Linked DNA regions of Homo sapiens: all the other regions are linked to region 1. Evidence: promoter capture Hi-C in 16 types of primary human blood cells and fetal thymus (Javierre and others, 2016). All regions are on one chromosome and are shown on one strand. The core of a region is centred on a gene start or on the middle of the fragment in contact, and the rest is flanking DNA. Distances in the headings are between cores, read along the strand shown. Region 1 holds the start of FRRS1 (ferric chelate reductase 1). Region 2 holds the start of RTCA (RNA 3'-terminal phosphate cyclase). Region 3 holds the start of DBT (dihydrolipoamide branched chain transacylase E2). Region 4 overlaps SASS6 (SAS-6 centriolar assembly protein). Region 5 overlaps SLC71A1 (solute carrier family 71 member 1).

Region 1 (2,680 bases), core at 124-2,623:
TTCAGTTCTATCCCAGTATAATACTCAAATCTTACCACTTTTTTAAAAATACAGAAGTGGCTGGGCGCGGTGGCTCACGCCTGTAATCCCAGCACTTTGGGAGGCCGAGGCAGGCAGATGACCTGACGCTGGGAGTTCGAAACCAGACTGACCAACATGGAGAAACCCCGTTTCTACTAAAAATACAAAATTAGCCGGGTGTGGTGGTGCCTGCCTGTAATCCCAGCTACTCAGGAGGCTGAGGCAGGAGAATTGCTTGAACCCGGGAGGCAGAGGTTGCAGTGAGCCGAAATCCCGCCGTTGCACTCCAGCCTGGGCCACAAGAGCAACACTCCGTCTCGAAAATAATAAATAAATAGGCCAGACGCGGTGGCTCAAGCCTGTAATCCCAGCACTTTGGGAGGCGGAGGCGGGCATATCACGAGGTCAGGAGATAGAGACCATCCTTGCCAACACAGTGAAACCCCGTCTCTACTAAAAATACAAAAAATTAGCCGGGCGTGGTGGCGGGCGCCTGTAATCCCAGCAGTATACTCAGGAGGCTGAAGCAGAAGAATCGCTTGAACCCGGGAGGCGGAGCTTGCAGTGAGCCGAGATCGCGCCACTGCACTCCAGCCTGGCGGACAGAGCGAGACTCCGTCTCAAAAATAAATGAATAAATAAATAAATAAAAATAAAAAATAAAAATACAGAAGCAAATGAAAATATCTGAACTGAAAAGTTTAGCTATGTTAAGAAATATTCCTAATAACACATTTACAATTTGAAAAATCCCCTTTACCCTTTAGGGCAGTATGACAAGCACACACAAAAATAAGTGCAGTGATAACACCTTGCCACCCTGGAGTCTTTCTGAAATTTTAACGACACACCAGGGCTAGGGAGTGGGAGGGTAAGGGGACTAAAAGTTCTAGATAAAAAGCCACTTTAAAAACCAAATAAGGTTCTAAGTGACCCTGATATAGGTAACCATGCCACTAGCTTTAAATATAAAAAAAGAGTTCCTACAGTTTTAAATTTAAAATTAAAAACAAAAAAAAAACTCCTGCAAGAATAAAGTCAATGATTTTCAGGATCCCAAACACGTCTCTACTTATAACCACCCATATCTTGGAATTAAAGCTTGTTAGTCAAAGTCACAGGACATATTAACCTAACTCGTTAGTGAACACTCATTAGCTCAATTCAAGCTCCAGAACATAGTTTCGGAATACAGCACCCGTTCTGCCTGGCCGACTGCCCTGGTCAGCACAGGCACTCGCTCTCCAGTCTGTCGCTAAGCTGGATTTGATTTTTAACGCTTTACAAAGAGCTTTGACATTAAGGAAAAAGACGTGACACTTACCTTGAGAAGCGAAGGCAGCCTAACCAACTTCCGGTTTTGTTACAACTTGTATCACATTTCAGCAGCTGGGTGGAGCCAGTTAAGCCTTGAGCCAAAAGGGAACCTTTCCCAAACTAAGCTGCAGAACTTGATTTGCAAGACCAGTGCTAGTTTTAGGACTCCATTTCTGAAAACTTAGAATTCTGTTTTACACTAAGGAACAGTGTTTGCCAACTAGTACCTACTTCGCCACAAAAATTATAGTTTTTGTGTTTAATTGCAAAACTATTTGAAAATACCTGTTCTATAATAGTGCTAAGTAAAAGCAAATTAACTTTTAAAAAGTGGAAAAAGATCAGATTGCATAGAACCGAAACCTTTCTGCAGTGTGAATGATATAATGCAAAAGAAATCTTTTATTTTGCAAATTACCCCTGAAATTTAGGAGTTTTGTTTCTTTTTAAGCCTTTAATCTGTTTCACAAGACTCTTTTGCAAAAGAAAAATTTTAGGGCTAGGAAAAGACAATGTAATTGAATTTTTAACAATCTTTGTTTTTATTTTGTTTTTTGTTTTCCTGTTTTTTACTTTTTTTCTTCTCTTTAATGTAATTGAAAATATTAAACATTCCATTTCAGACCTTGAGTGACATTGTAATTGCCCAGTGGGTTCACCTTGCCCGCTGTCTAGACAGAGCCGATTTATCAAGACAGGGGAATCGCAATGGAGAAAGAGTAATTCACGCAGAGCTGGCTGTGCAGGAGACCGGAGTTTTTTGTTTTGTTTGTTTGTTTGTTTTGTTTTGTTTTGTTTTGAGACGGAGTCTCTGTCTGTGGCCCAGGCTGGAGTGCGGTGGCATGATCTCGGCTCACTGCAGCCTCCCCGTCCTAGGTTCAAGCGATTCTCCTGCCTCAGCCTCCCCAGTAGCTGGGACTACAGGCGCCCGCCACCACGCCCGGCTAATTTTTGTATTTTAGCAGAGACAGGGTTTCACCATGTTGGCCAGGCTAGTTTGGAACTCCTGACCTCAAGTGATTCCACCTGCCTCAGCCTCCCAAAGTGCTGAGATTACAGGCATAAGCCACCGCGCCCAGCCCGGAGTTCTATTATTACTCAACACAGTCTCCCCAGGATTCGGAGATCAGAATTTTTAAAGATAATTTGGCGGGTAGGGGCTTGGGAAGTGGGAGTGCTAATTGGTCAGATTGGAGATGGAATCATGGGGGGTCGACGTGAGGTTTTCTTGCTGTCTTCTGTTCCTGGGTGGGATGGCAGAACTGGGTGAGCCCAATTACCGGTCTGTGTGGCATCAGCTGATCCACCGAGTCCAGGCTCTGCAAAATATCTCAAGCACTGA
Region 2 (2,680 bases), core at 127-2,626, 500 kb after region 1:
TATTGGGGGCGGGTTCCCCCAATAAAGATGTCAGATAGGGGTACAGCTTTTTTATATTCCATCCCTACCATCATTGCCTTACTTCAACTTCTGATTATTTCTTGCTGGATAATTGTATCATTGGCATTTCTCCCTTCAGGCTCTTAAGCCTCTTATTCACCCTTCTCCTACTGCCAAAGCCTTCATTTTAAAATGCAAGTATCATTACTTCTCTGATTAATATCTTACGGCAAATTCCAGATTTGGTTAAGTACATAGTCTGTGTGTTCCCTAAAACATTCTCTGTCGCAAAGCAGCAGAGCGTTGGGATTACCAGACAGTGGTGTTCACATCAGACCACCCAGGTTCACATCTCAGTCTTCTAGTTAAAATTGTGTGACCTTGTAGCAAATTGTTTAACACAGGAAGCTGTAAAACAGTAAAAACAGTAAGTACTTTATCATGTTATGAATGCATGCAGTGCACAACACCTAAGTGCTCAATAAGTGTTGCCTGTTATTGTTACAGTATATTATTAATATATTGTAATTGTCCCCATAATAAACTCTAAATACAGTACATGTTAATTATTATTGAGGATGACATTGTAATTGATTACGTCTCAGTCTCTCCATTATACCTCCAATAACTTCGGGGGTAGAAGCTGAATTACTCTTTTTTGCTTCCCTAGAGGTTTACATATTATTTGGTACTCAATTATGTAGGAACTGAGCCACAGGCAGAACCAAGAAGCTGGCTATTGCTTCTGCCCTCGCCTGAGGTGAATTGTTAGCTGCACTGTTCCTGGGAGTCAAGAGCTTGCACTCACTCTCAAGCAAAATGGCATAACTTTGGCTTTTCAGAATATTAAACTAGTGATTCTGCCTTTCCCGCCTCTCAAATAAATGGTGTGTCACCCTAGAAAGAAAGATAACACACTCCGCATACACAAACACGCACACCGCAAGGAACCAAAGGCCAAGAGTATCAATGTACCAGGGCGCACACACTTCGAGAGACAGGTTCGGTGCATCGCAGGATCCCAATCTTTCTTGCATCTTCAGCTCTAAAAGTCGGCACCTCGGGGTATGCCAGGATCCTCGAGAAAACAGATATAAACACATATTTACCCACAAAACAGAGATAAAGCACAAGCCTGCGGGATAACTGGAGGAGTTATCTTACAGTTGAGACTTTCTGCAACCTGCAGATTTTGCCGTGCCCAGGGCACAAGTTTTTCAGGGCTCCTGGGCACCCCCGCGACCGTCATCTCACTTCCCCGGCAGCTTCCTCGCCCCGACCGCAGTGTTCCCAGCGCGGCTCCTTTAAGCCGAGCTACGCGCATGCGCACTGACTGCGGAACTGGGCGAACCCGGGGGTTCGTTTCTGCTGACTCCAGTGTCCCGAGAGGCGCCGCTTCTTCCGCTTTCTCGTCAGGCTCCTGCGCCCCAGGCATGAACCAAGGTTTCTGAACTACTGGGCGGGAGCCAACGTCTCTTCTTTCTCCCGCTCTGGCGGAGGCTTTGTCGCTGCGGGCTGGGCCCCAGGGTGTCCCCCATGGCGGGGCCGCGGGTGGAGGTCGATGGCAGCATCATGGAAGGGGTGAGTACAGAGCGAAGCGGCCGGGGCTGCAGCCTAACTAAGGAGGGGAGCTCTCACCACCGGTGTGCTTACTTCTCTTCTCCCTGTACCCCAACCTTTGCAGGGCGGCCAGATCCTGAGAGTCTCTACGGCCTTGAGCTGTCTCCTAGGCCTCCCCTTGCGGGTGCAGAAGATCCGAGCCGGCCGGAGCACGCCAGGCCTGAGGTAAATCTGGCTGGAGGGGGAGTTGGGCCGTGAAGCTGGGGGATCGGGGGGTCGGGCTGCCGGGCTGGGGCATCGGGAGTCCGAGTGGTGGAACCCAGAAGGTCCCAGACGCAGGTATGGGCGATCCAGGGCGGGGCACTCTGCCTGGGCGGTGGCCTGGGTTGTAAAGTCTTGAAAGCCTGGAGGGGTGAGTTTAGAAATGGTCTCGAGTTTTCTCTGTTTGACTAAATAGTGTCATTTGCTGAAGAGCTAGCTTTTAAAATGTTTTCTCACCTCACCGGGCATTCCAAATATCCGAACAGCACGTATGAGCTGGCAAGATAGATAGGGCAGAAATGCTTGTGACGCCAGAGGAAACCCTGTTTTATAACCAGTGCATTCTGGTTCTGCTGTCAGTTTTAGAATCATAAAACAGGAAAGAATCCTGAGATGTGTTATCCCAGCCTTCATTCATACCTCCAGAGAGCTGTTATGACCAGAATTATCTGTTGTGGAGAGGGAAACACCTTGACATTTGACCTTATTTCTTCTGTCTGGGTAGCTGGGCATGCCACTAGTTGAGCTTCAGGTACATGCACCTGCTAGAAGAGGACCCAGGTTTGAAGCCACACTGATTGCTTTGTATGTATTCTGTATTTATTACATTTTAATAAATCAGCGGTCTCAGTCTTTTGTCTACAGTTTTGAAATTACCAAAAGGCAATTACTGATATGTTAATGTTAATTGCCTTTGTCATAGTTTGCAGCCCTCCAGTTCACCAACAGGGGAATCCAATTCATTAGGCTGTAGGTGTTGTATTAGTTTGCTAGGGCTGCCATAACAAAATGCCACACACAGAGTGGAGCTTAAACAACAGAAATTTATTTCCTCACAGTTCTGGAGGCTGGAAGTCCA
Region 3 (2,680 bases), core at 73-2,572, 480 kb after region 1:
TGGTAACTAAAGCCAAAGAGTGGATGGGATAACCCAGAAAGTGGGAAAAGTGCAGAGGGCCAAAGTCAGAGCCCTTTAGAAAAAGCAATATTTAAAAGGCGGGAAGGGAAACAGGATATTGGGATGAAGTGGCCAAAGATGAAGAAAGAATAATATTGGGAAACTGGTGTCACAGAAAACAAGAATGGAAAGCTCTAGAAAGAAGAGAGACCAATATGTGTTAAGTGTTGCTGAGAAGAGCTCTCTTCTCCTGGTTATCTCTTACTTATCCTTCTTACATCTCAAGTCATACAGTATCCTCTGGGAACTCCTCTGACCCCCAAGTCCACCATAGGTGTCCACTCCTGTGTGTTCCTGTAGTTCTAGGCACTTGTCCCATCACAGTACCTCTCATGCTGGGTTGTAATTTCTATCTGTCTCCCTCTCCTTTGTCCTCCACCACAAGGTTGTAATCTCTTGAGAAGGAAGATATGATGTCTATTTCATATTTGTATCTCCAGTGCCTAACACAGCACTGGTACATAGCAGGCTCTTGAAAGTTTTTGTAAGATCGGGGTCACCAAGGCAGGAGCATCTAGGGAAAGGGAGAAGAGGCAGGAAGAAGAAACACTAAGCAAATAGGGGTAACAAGTATCATTACCGGTATGTGTCAGTGCTTGGTGCTAAGACTGGGAGAAAGAGAAGGAAGTGCAGGGGAGATGGTGATGGGTCACAGCCTTGGTGACAAAAGGGTAGGAATGATATGTGGTGCGGACATAGAAGTACAAGGCAAAAGAGTGACGCCGAGCTGCTCAGTTCTTCGGAAGCAGGGACCCCTGCTGATATTCTATAACTTGAACGGCCTCTTCCTCTACACACTGTAGATTCCTTGAGGGTAGGGGTCGTGTTACCAGTGTTTGGCATACTGTGGGTACGCAATAAATGCTAAACGAATATATCTCTGGATCCACAGCGCCTATCACAATGCCTGGGCACCTGGAAGGCGCTCAATAAAACGCTAGCTGGGCCTCGGGGTACAGATGGAGCAGGACGGCTGAGTCGCTGCAGAAGCGCTTCCAGGTAAGGGGAGGGAGTGGGTTTCCACTCCAGACTGGTCGACTCGCTCCGTTCTCTGCCCTTTATTTTGCATGCATCCCTTCACCTCTCCATCACGCGTGCCCTGGACGCCTGGCACCGGAGGAGAAAGTAAAACACCACTCCTGGATGACTCCGGACAAATCACTCCTTCCCGGCCTCAGATCTGCCCAAACGTGCTTACCAGCTTCCCCGCATTCCTGCTCCAGGTTCTCAGCATACGGACTGCAGCCATCTTACCCCGGAAATGACAACAGTGCCGCAAACTGGAGAGACTCTCCTCGGCGCGGCCTATCAGGAGATGGGAAACGCGCCTCCCCCTGGGCGACCAATAGGGAGGGAAGAAACGAGCCTCCCACCCAACAGCCAACCAAGGAGTAGGGCGGAGCCTGAGCTAAACCCTAGGATCTGGGACCCAGCGGGGAGTGAAAAGAGCCTGGGGGACGGAGGCGGGGCAGAGGGCAGCCCAAATTTAACACTGCTGTGTAAATACAGATGCACCAAAGATAATCTTTTTAGTGTATGTGATGGGGAAAATAGAGAGTGTTAAGGAAACACAAAGAAAGGTACTTACCTCAAGAAAGTTATGTTGCAGTAGGACCTGAGCGATGAGTTGGAAAACATTTCCCCGTCTTCATCTTGTAGTGTAGCCGCCCCAAATACAGAAAATAGAATATTTCTATACGTTGTAGCAAGGCTCTGGACAACTAGTTGTTTCACAAGTCCATACAGCAGTACTTCCCAATGACTGCCTTTTTTACTCCCATTTATGTTTTTGATTACCAAAATTGGCTAATCAATTTTTTTCATGAAAGATGAACATTACCTAATGTCTAAAATAAACATGTTATCATCTTTCTTTTTACAGACTGCTATCAGATGCAGCTAACTAGCATATGCAATACATGTCACAGACACATGATCTTGATTTAGTTGTCTCTTAAAGAAATGTCAAATTCAGGTCAAGTGGAACTGGTAAAGAACAGATCAGAGCTTTCTTTTAAAAGGCAATCTTCCTCAGAGCAACTAGGAAACCAATTCCTGGAAATGTCCAGGATGACATTAGTCTGTTATTGCTTCTTACGTGGGAATGAAAATCTGCACAGATGTCTAAGGAATTACAGAGAAAAAAAACTGGAACAAATACATTTTAAATGCTCAACATTGAAGATTAGTGGTTATGAAACAAAATCTCAGGTATTTCACAACTTCATTGTTTAATATGACCCAAACACTTTTCCCCCTCATTTGCCATTTTATGTATTACACATCTACACACAAAAAATCAATGCAAACAATAAATCTTATTATCTTTTTTGTTTGTTTGTTTGTTTGGTAGAGATAGGGTCTCTTGGGCCAGGCGTGGTGGCTCCTGCCCATAATTCCAGCACTTTGGGAGGCTGAGGCAGGCAAATGGCTTGAGCTCAGAAGTTCAAGATGGGATCTCTCTATGTTGCCCAGGCTGGTCTCAAAGTCCTGGTCTCAAACTGCGATCTTCCCATTTCAGCCTCCCAAAGTCCTAGGATTACAGGCATGAGCCACTGGGTCCGGCCTAAATAGCTATCTTTCTCAGAAAATCTAGAGTAGTCAAAAGAATTTCAAGTTT
Region 4 (2,680 bases), core at 65-2,564, 360 kb after region 1:
CCACGAATTAAATCTGCTTAATATATTCTTTATGTAATAAAACCACAGAAGTATTATCAACAAGTTTATTACACCTATTTTATCCTTGAGTAAAGTAACTTTAAGCCCTGAGAGGGAGAGACCACAGTGTTCCACATCCTATGCTGTATCTTAGAGAATCCAGAATTGGACAGAGGTATATAGGTGAAAGTGCTCATAAACATTAATCAAATAGAGCACAAATGCTTATATAATTCAGAAAATAAAGGGAGAAATTAGTAAAAAATACCTATGCACAAGTACTTCTCAAACTATTCTGCCAGAATTAAATAACAATGGCCTTTCTTTGATGTGCAGGTAGAAAAAAGTAAACTAACAAATAGAATTTGTTCAATTTTAAGTTTTTCTTCTAAGGACTTCTTTTAAACCTTTTCCACACTATTGCTTATCTACTACACAAGTAAAAAGTATAAACAGCAATTGAGTACTGATAGGAAAACTTGGAAACAGTTGATCAAGGCTAGATTCAATTGTTTAGATTTTTTAATGCTGACTTGTAATTTTATATGGGTTTAAAATGTGTCATTTTAGTTAAGTTTCTTGTTGAACATATGATTGGATGCTAAATCTCCGTTTGTACAATAAGGTTAAATGTTACCTCATAACTTGTATCTGTTTTCTGAAAAGGAACAAGAAGCACTGGTTTACACCAGAGAGAGGAAGAATTATTTTCAAAACAAGAGAATACACTGTTGCTATTTTTCTAGTATCTAAAGCAACATATGTGAAACAGATTAGAGTGTTACTCCAATTCCATTTAAGCTTTCCTGAGCTGGGCACAGTGCCTCCCACCTGTAGTGCTGGCTACTTCAGAGGCTGAGGCAGGAGGATAGCTTGAGCCCAGGGGTTCAAGTCCAGTCTGGGCAACACAGCAAGATTAAGCTTTCGTGGTGGGGTGGGGGAGGGGGGGACTCAGTTTCCGAACTTGTAAGATAAGTGGATTCAACTAGAAGGTTTGTGAAAACCTTTTTAGCTCTACATCATTATGTTTGGTTTTCATCTTCTGAAGTTTTCTCTAGTATAAATGCCATAGTGGTATGATACTGCAGTTGGTATTTAACTTTTTATGGTGCTTTACAGTTTATTTTTATTTTAATTATTTATTTATTTATTTATTTTTGAGACAGAGTTTCGCTCTGTCACCCAGTCTGGAGTGCAATGGTGCGATCTTGGCTCACTGCAACCTCCGCCTCCCAGGTTCAAACGATTCTCCTGCCTCAGTCTCCTGAGTAGCTGAGTTTACAGGGGCACAACACCACACCTGGCTAATTTTCGTATTTTTAGTAGAGATGGGGTTTCACCATGTTGGCCAGACTGGTCTCAAACTCCTGACCTCAAGTGATCTGCCCACCTCAGCCTCCCAAAGTGATAGCAGTACAGGCGTGGGCCACTGCACCTAGACGGTGTTTTACGGTTTTAAAAGTCCTGTCATACTTCATATATTTGCAAAAAGTACAAGAAGAATTCACTTATCAAAGTGTTCTTTACATAATCCTGGAAGAGTTATATTACTATGACAATTTACCAATCATATTAATGATATTGTTGCATATATTCCAAATGCCTATATACATTAGATGTTGAAAGAAAAAACGGAAGGCCTGTAAGTTAAACGAATTCCCCATGCTTAGTTAAAAAACATCCCTAGAAATATGCTGTAGAAAAATACAAGCTTTCAGAGGATACGCTAACTAAAATCACAAATCTTATTTTTTCCCTTATAATGGTTAATGTCATAAGAGCAATATAAAACAATAAAAACTCAATAAAATGTTATTTCTCATCTCAATAGATGTCGTACTCAATAGATGTCTAATACTAATGACATTAGATTTAGTTATGAGTTCTTCTAAATAAAAAGTATTCTAAACATCAGGCTTGCTTTAGCACAACTGGATTCTAGGCCATCTCTGACACCCAGTAGCTGTGCTCTTAAACTATCAATCAAACAAATAAAAGGTACTTTAAGCCAGGTATTGTGCCAGGTGCTAGGGATACAAACAGAAATAAACATGGTCCAGGGGCTTGGCACAGTGGCTCACATCTGTAATCCCAGCACTTTGGGAGGCTGAGGTGGGTGGATCACCTGAGGCCAAGAGTTCAAGACCAGCATGGGCAACATAGCAAAATCCTATCTCTACAAAAAATTTATAAAATGAGCCAGGCATGGTGGTGCATGCCTGTAGTTTCATGTACTCTGGAAGCTGAAGCAGGAGAGCTTAAGACCAAGAGTTTGAGATTACAGTAAGCCATGATTATGACACAACACTCTAGCCTGGGCAACAGAGTGACAGCCTCTCTCTAAAAAAAAAAAAATAATAATTTTTGAACATAGGATGACACAAACAAAACAAAACAAAAAAAACCATGGTCTCTGTCCTCAAATTGAGATGAGATTAATGACTTTTTGCTAGATTTGCTTCTGATTGCATTTTAGGGCTCCATGAGAGGGGAGGGAAGGGTTACCAACACTACTGAGTACCTGCCAGGTATTCTACATATATCATCTTATTTAACAATAATCTTGATAAGTAAATATTATTTATTTTACAAAAGAAGAACTTAAGGCCCAAATAATGGTTTAAGGTCACATTACAGAGCCCAAATGAAAACTCAGATCTTTCACCTACACCACACTATC
Region 5 (2,680 bases), core at 94-2,593, 300 kb after region 1:
TTCCACCTCAGCCTCCCGAGTAGCTGGGACTACTAATTTTTGTATGTTTTGTAGTGATGGAGTTTCACCATGTTGCCCAGGATGGTCTCAAACTCTTAAACTCAAGTGATCTGCCTGTCTCAGCCTCCCAAAGTGCTGGAATTACAGGCATGAGACACTGCACCTGGCCAGTAGTTTTTTTTGATTGCTGTGTAGTGTATTCTTATCCATCAGTTGATGGACATTTGATTGATAGCTAGATGTTTGAAATTACTAGAATTTTATGTACTTGTTCAAATAATTGACCTTTGAAAATTGAATTGCTTGCCTTAAGCAATAGAGTTGCAAGTAAGCATTCTTGTGAAGTTTAAGTTCTCCATCCAAAAGTCAAAAATGGCATAGAAACAGAATAAAATTCCAACATTAATCTCTATGCTTTGAAAGAATATGGTCCTTTTCCTTTCCTTCCCTTCCCCTTTCCTTTCCTTTGCCCTTCTCTTCCCCCTCCCCTCCCCTCCCCTTTCCACTTTTCACTTTCACTTTCCCCTTTCCTTTTCGCTTTCACCTTTCTCCTTTCCTTTCCTTTTCTCTTTTCCCTTCCCTTCCCTTCCCTTCCCCTTTTCCCTTTCCTTTCCCCTCCCCTTTTCCCTTTCCCTTCTTTTTTCTTTTTCTTTCCTTTTCCTTTCCCTTCCCCTTTCCCCTTTTCCTTAAGCCTTTTCCCTAAGCCTTTTCCCTTTTTTAACCCTTTCCTTCCCCTTTTCTCTTCCCCTTTCCCCTTTTCCTTTCTCCTCCTCTCCTTTCCTTTCCTCTTCTCTTCTCTCCTCTCCTCTTCTTTCCCCTTTCTCCATTCCTTTTCCCTTTGCTTTCCTTTCCTCTTTCCTTTCCAGACAGGGTGTTGCCCAGACTGGACTCACTCTTGGGATCAAGTGATCTCCCACCTCAGCCTCCTGAGTAGCTGGGACTATAGGCAGGTGCCACCTCACCTGACTAAGAGTGCTATTTTTATGAAGTGTTTCCTGCTGTCACATCTGCTAATTTGTAGGCTGTTGTCCAGTAGGCTAGAAATGTCTGCGGTTAACAGGTTTGCTCTACTCGTGTCCTTTTCAACTTTAATCTTCATCTTCACCAGGCTTAAAAAAATAGACTTCCTCAGAGTTTTAGAGATGTTCTTAATTTATCTGTGATTTCATTCTTCCTAACCCTGCCAACTAAAAAGATTACCAAGCTCAGTTTTGTTCCAGGGCTTAACATATTATTCATGAGAACAGGAACCTCCAAGTCTTTAAGCTTTATTTCAGCTAGCCCTTCAGTATGTATCAAGATAAACGTTCATTTAATTTTAATATTGGAAAAGTCACAGTGAAATTGGATTTCCTTAGAGCAGTGGATTTTAGACTCCTTTCACAGAGAGCACTTAAGGGTTTATGGAGATGCCCTTAACCAAGCTTGTCCAACCCATGGTCCACAGGCTGCACACATGGCCCAACAGAAATTCATAAAGTTTCTTAAAACATTATGCAGTTTTTTTTTCTTTAAGCTCATCAGCTATTGTTAGTGTATTTTATGTGTGGCCCAAGACCGTTCTTCCAGCGTGGCCCAGGGAAGCCAAAAGATTAGACACCCCTCCCCTAAGGACCAGCATGACTGGCAGTCAAGGAGGGGTGTTTGTACAGTGCCCAGGCTCTCAACCCTTCCTCAACTAAAAGAGTTAAAAAATTTAAATAGGCCGGGCATGGTGGCTCACGCCTGTAATCCCAGCACTTTGGGAGGCCGAGGCGGGCGGATCACGAGGTCAGGAGATCGAGACCATCTTGGCTAACACGGTGAAACCCCATCTCTACTAAAAATACAAAAAATTAGCCGGGCGAGGTGGCGGGCGCCTGTAGTCCCAGCTATTCGGGAGGCTGAGGCAGGAGAATGGCGTAAACCCCGGGGGCGGAGCCTGCAGTGAGCCGAGATCGCGCCACTGCACTCCAGCCTGGGCGACAGAGCGAGACTCCGTCTCAAAAAAAAAAAAAAAAAAAAAAAAATTTAAATAGAGGCAGGGTCTTGCTGTGTTGCCCAGGCTGGTCACAAACTTCTGGCTTCACGCAGTCCTCCCACCTTGGCCTCCCCAAGTGCTGAGATTACAGGCATGAACCATCACACCCAGTCTTCTTAAAAAAATCTCTTTTACCTATGAATTTGCCAGTAGGATTTATTGGAACAGAGGGCTCCAAGGCTTAGAAAGTTTGAAGACAGTGTCCTGAGAGGCTATCATTTATTTTATTTTATTTTTGAGATGCGGTCTCACTCTGTCACCCTGGCTGGAGTGCAGTGGTGCTGTCATGGCTCACTGCAACCTCCGCCTTTCTGGCTCAAAGGAATTCTGCCACCTCAGCCTCTGAAGTAGCTGAGACTACAGGTGCACACCAGCATGCCCAGCTAATTTTTCTTTTTTCTTTTTTGATACAGACAGGGTTTCTCCATGTTGTCCAGGCTGTTTTTAAGGCAAGAATCTAATTCTTTACTTTTCCTGCCAAAGGAGAGAGTATAAGAAAAGTGGGGCCAGGCTTGGTGTCTCATACCTGTACTCCCAGCCCTTCGGGAGGCTGAGGTGGGAGGATCGCTTGAGCTCAGGAGTTCGAGACTAGCCTAGGCAACATAGCGTGACTTCCACCTCTATAAAAAATAAACAAAATTAGCTGGGCGTGGTGGTGTG

Evidence for each region. Contacts are between HindIII fragments. The CHiCAGO score rates a contact against its expected background, and 5 or more counts as called.
Region 2: a contact is called between the fragment with the promoter of RTCA here and the fragment with the promoter of FRRS1 in region 1, in 2 of 17 cell types (M0 macrophages and M2 macrophages). The highest score is 6.4, in M0 macrophages.
Region 3: the fragment with the promoter of DBT here is called in contact with the fragment with the promoter of FRRS1 in region 1 in 16 of 17 cell types (erythroblasts, monocytes, M0 macrophages and 13 more); the score reaches 31.7 in erythroblasts.
Region 4: a contact is called between a fragment that was not itself captured here and the fragment with the promoter of FRRS1 in region 1, in 1 of 17 cell types (erythroblasts). The highest score is 5.1, in erythroblasts.
Region 5: a fragment that was not itself captured here is called in contact with the fragment with the promoter of FRRS1 in region 1 in 1 of 17 cell types (megakaryocytes); the score reaches 5.3 in megakaryocytes.

What each region holds. Positions count from the first base shown.
Region 1 is chr1:99,765,262-99,767,941 of GRCh38, forward strand. FRRS1 (ferric chelate reductase 1) reads right to left here and starts at 1,374. Exons shown (of 17, transcript NM_001361041.2): 1 at 1,346-1,374. The HindIII fragment of the contact is 6,315 bases long and covers 1,121-2,680 here.
Region 2 is chr1:100,264,840-100,267,519 of GRCh38, forward strand. It overlaps RTCA (RNA 3'-terminal phosphate cyclase), which reads left to right and starts at 1,377. Exons shown (of 11, transcript NM_003729.4): 1 at 1,377-1,581; 2 at 1,685-1,785. The coding sequence starts at 1,537. It overlaps RTCA-AS1 (RTCA antisense RNA 1), which reads right to left and starts at 1,335. Exons shown (of 3, transcript NR_110435.1): 1 at 1,165-1,335; 2 at 990-1,078; 3 at 1-408. RefSeq lists enhancers at 1,068-1,617, 1,186-1,545. The HindIII fragment of the contact is 11,806 bases long and covers 1-2,680 here.
Region 3 is chr1:100,248,512-100,251,191 of GRCh38, forward strand. It overlaps DBT (dihydrolipoamide branched chain transacylase E2), which reads right to left and starts at 1,323. Exons shown (of 11, transcript NM_001918.5): 1 at 1,259-1,323. The coding sequence starts at 1,309. RefSeq lists enhancers at 492-1,051, 1,052-1,611, 1,213-1,332 and a silencer at 1,443-1,542. The HindIII fragment of the contact is 8,889 bases long and covers 1-2,680 here.
Region 4 is chr1:100,126,896-100,129,575 of GRCh38, forward strand. The region is part of intron 1 of SASS6 (SAS-6 centriolar assembly protein); the gene reads right to left. Among named protein-coding and RNA genes, the nearest start is that of SASS6, 4.7 kb to the right of the region's middle. The HindIII fragment of the contact is 790 bases long and covers 920-1,709 here.
Region 5 is chr1:100,065,005-100,067,684 of GRCh38, forward strand. All of the region lies in intron 5 of SLC71A1 (solute carrier family 71 member 1), which reads left to right. Among named protein-coding and RNA genes, the nearest start is that of SLC71A1, 28 kb to the left of the region's middle. The HindIII fragment of the contact is 158 bases long and covers 1,265-1,422 here.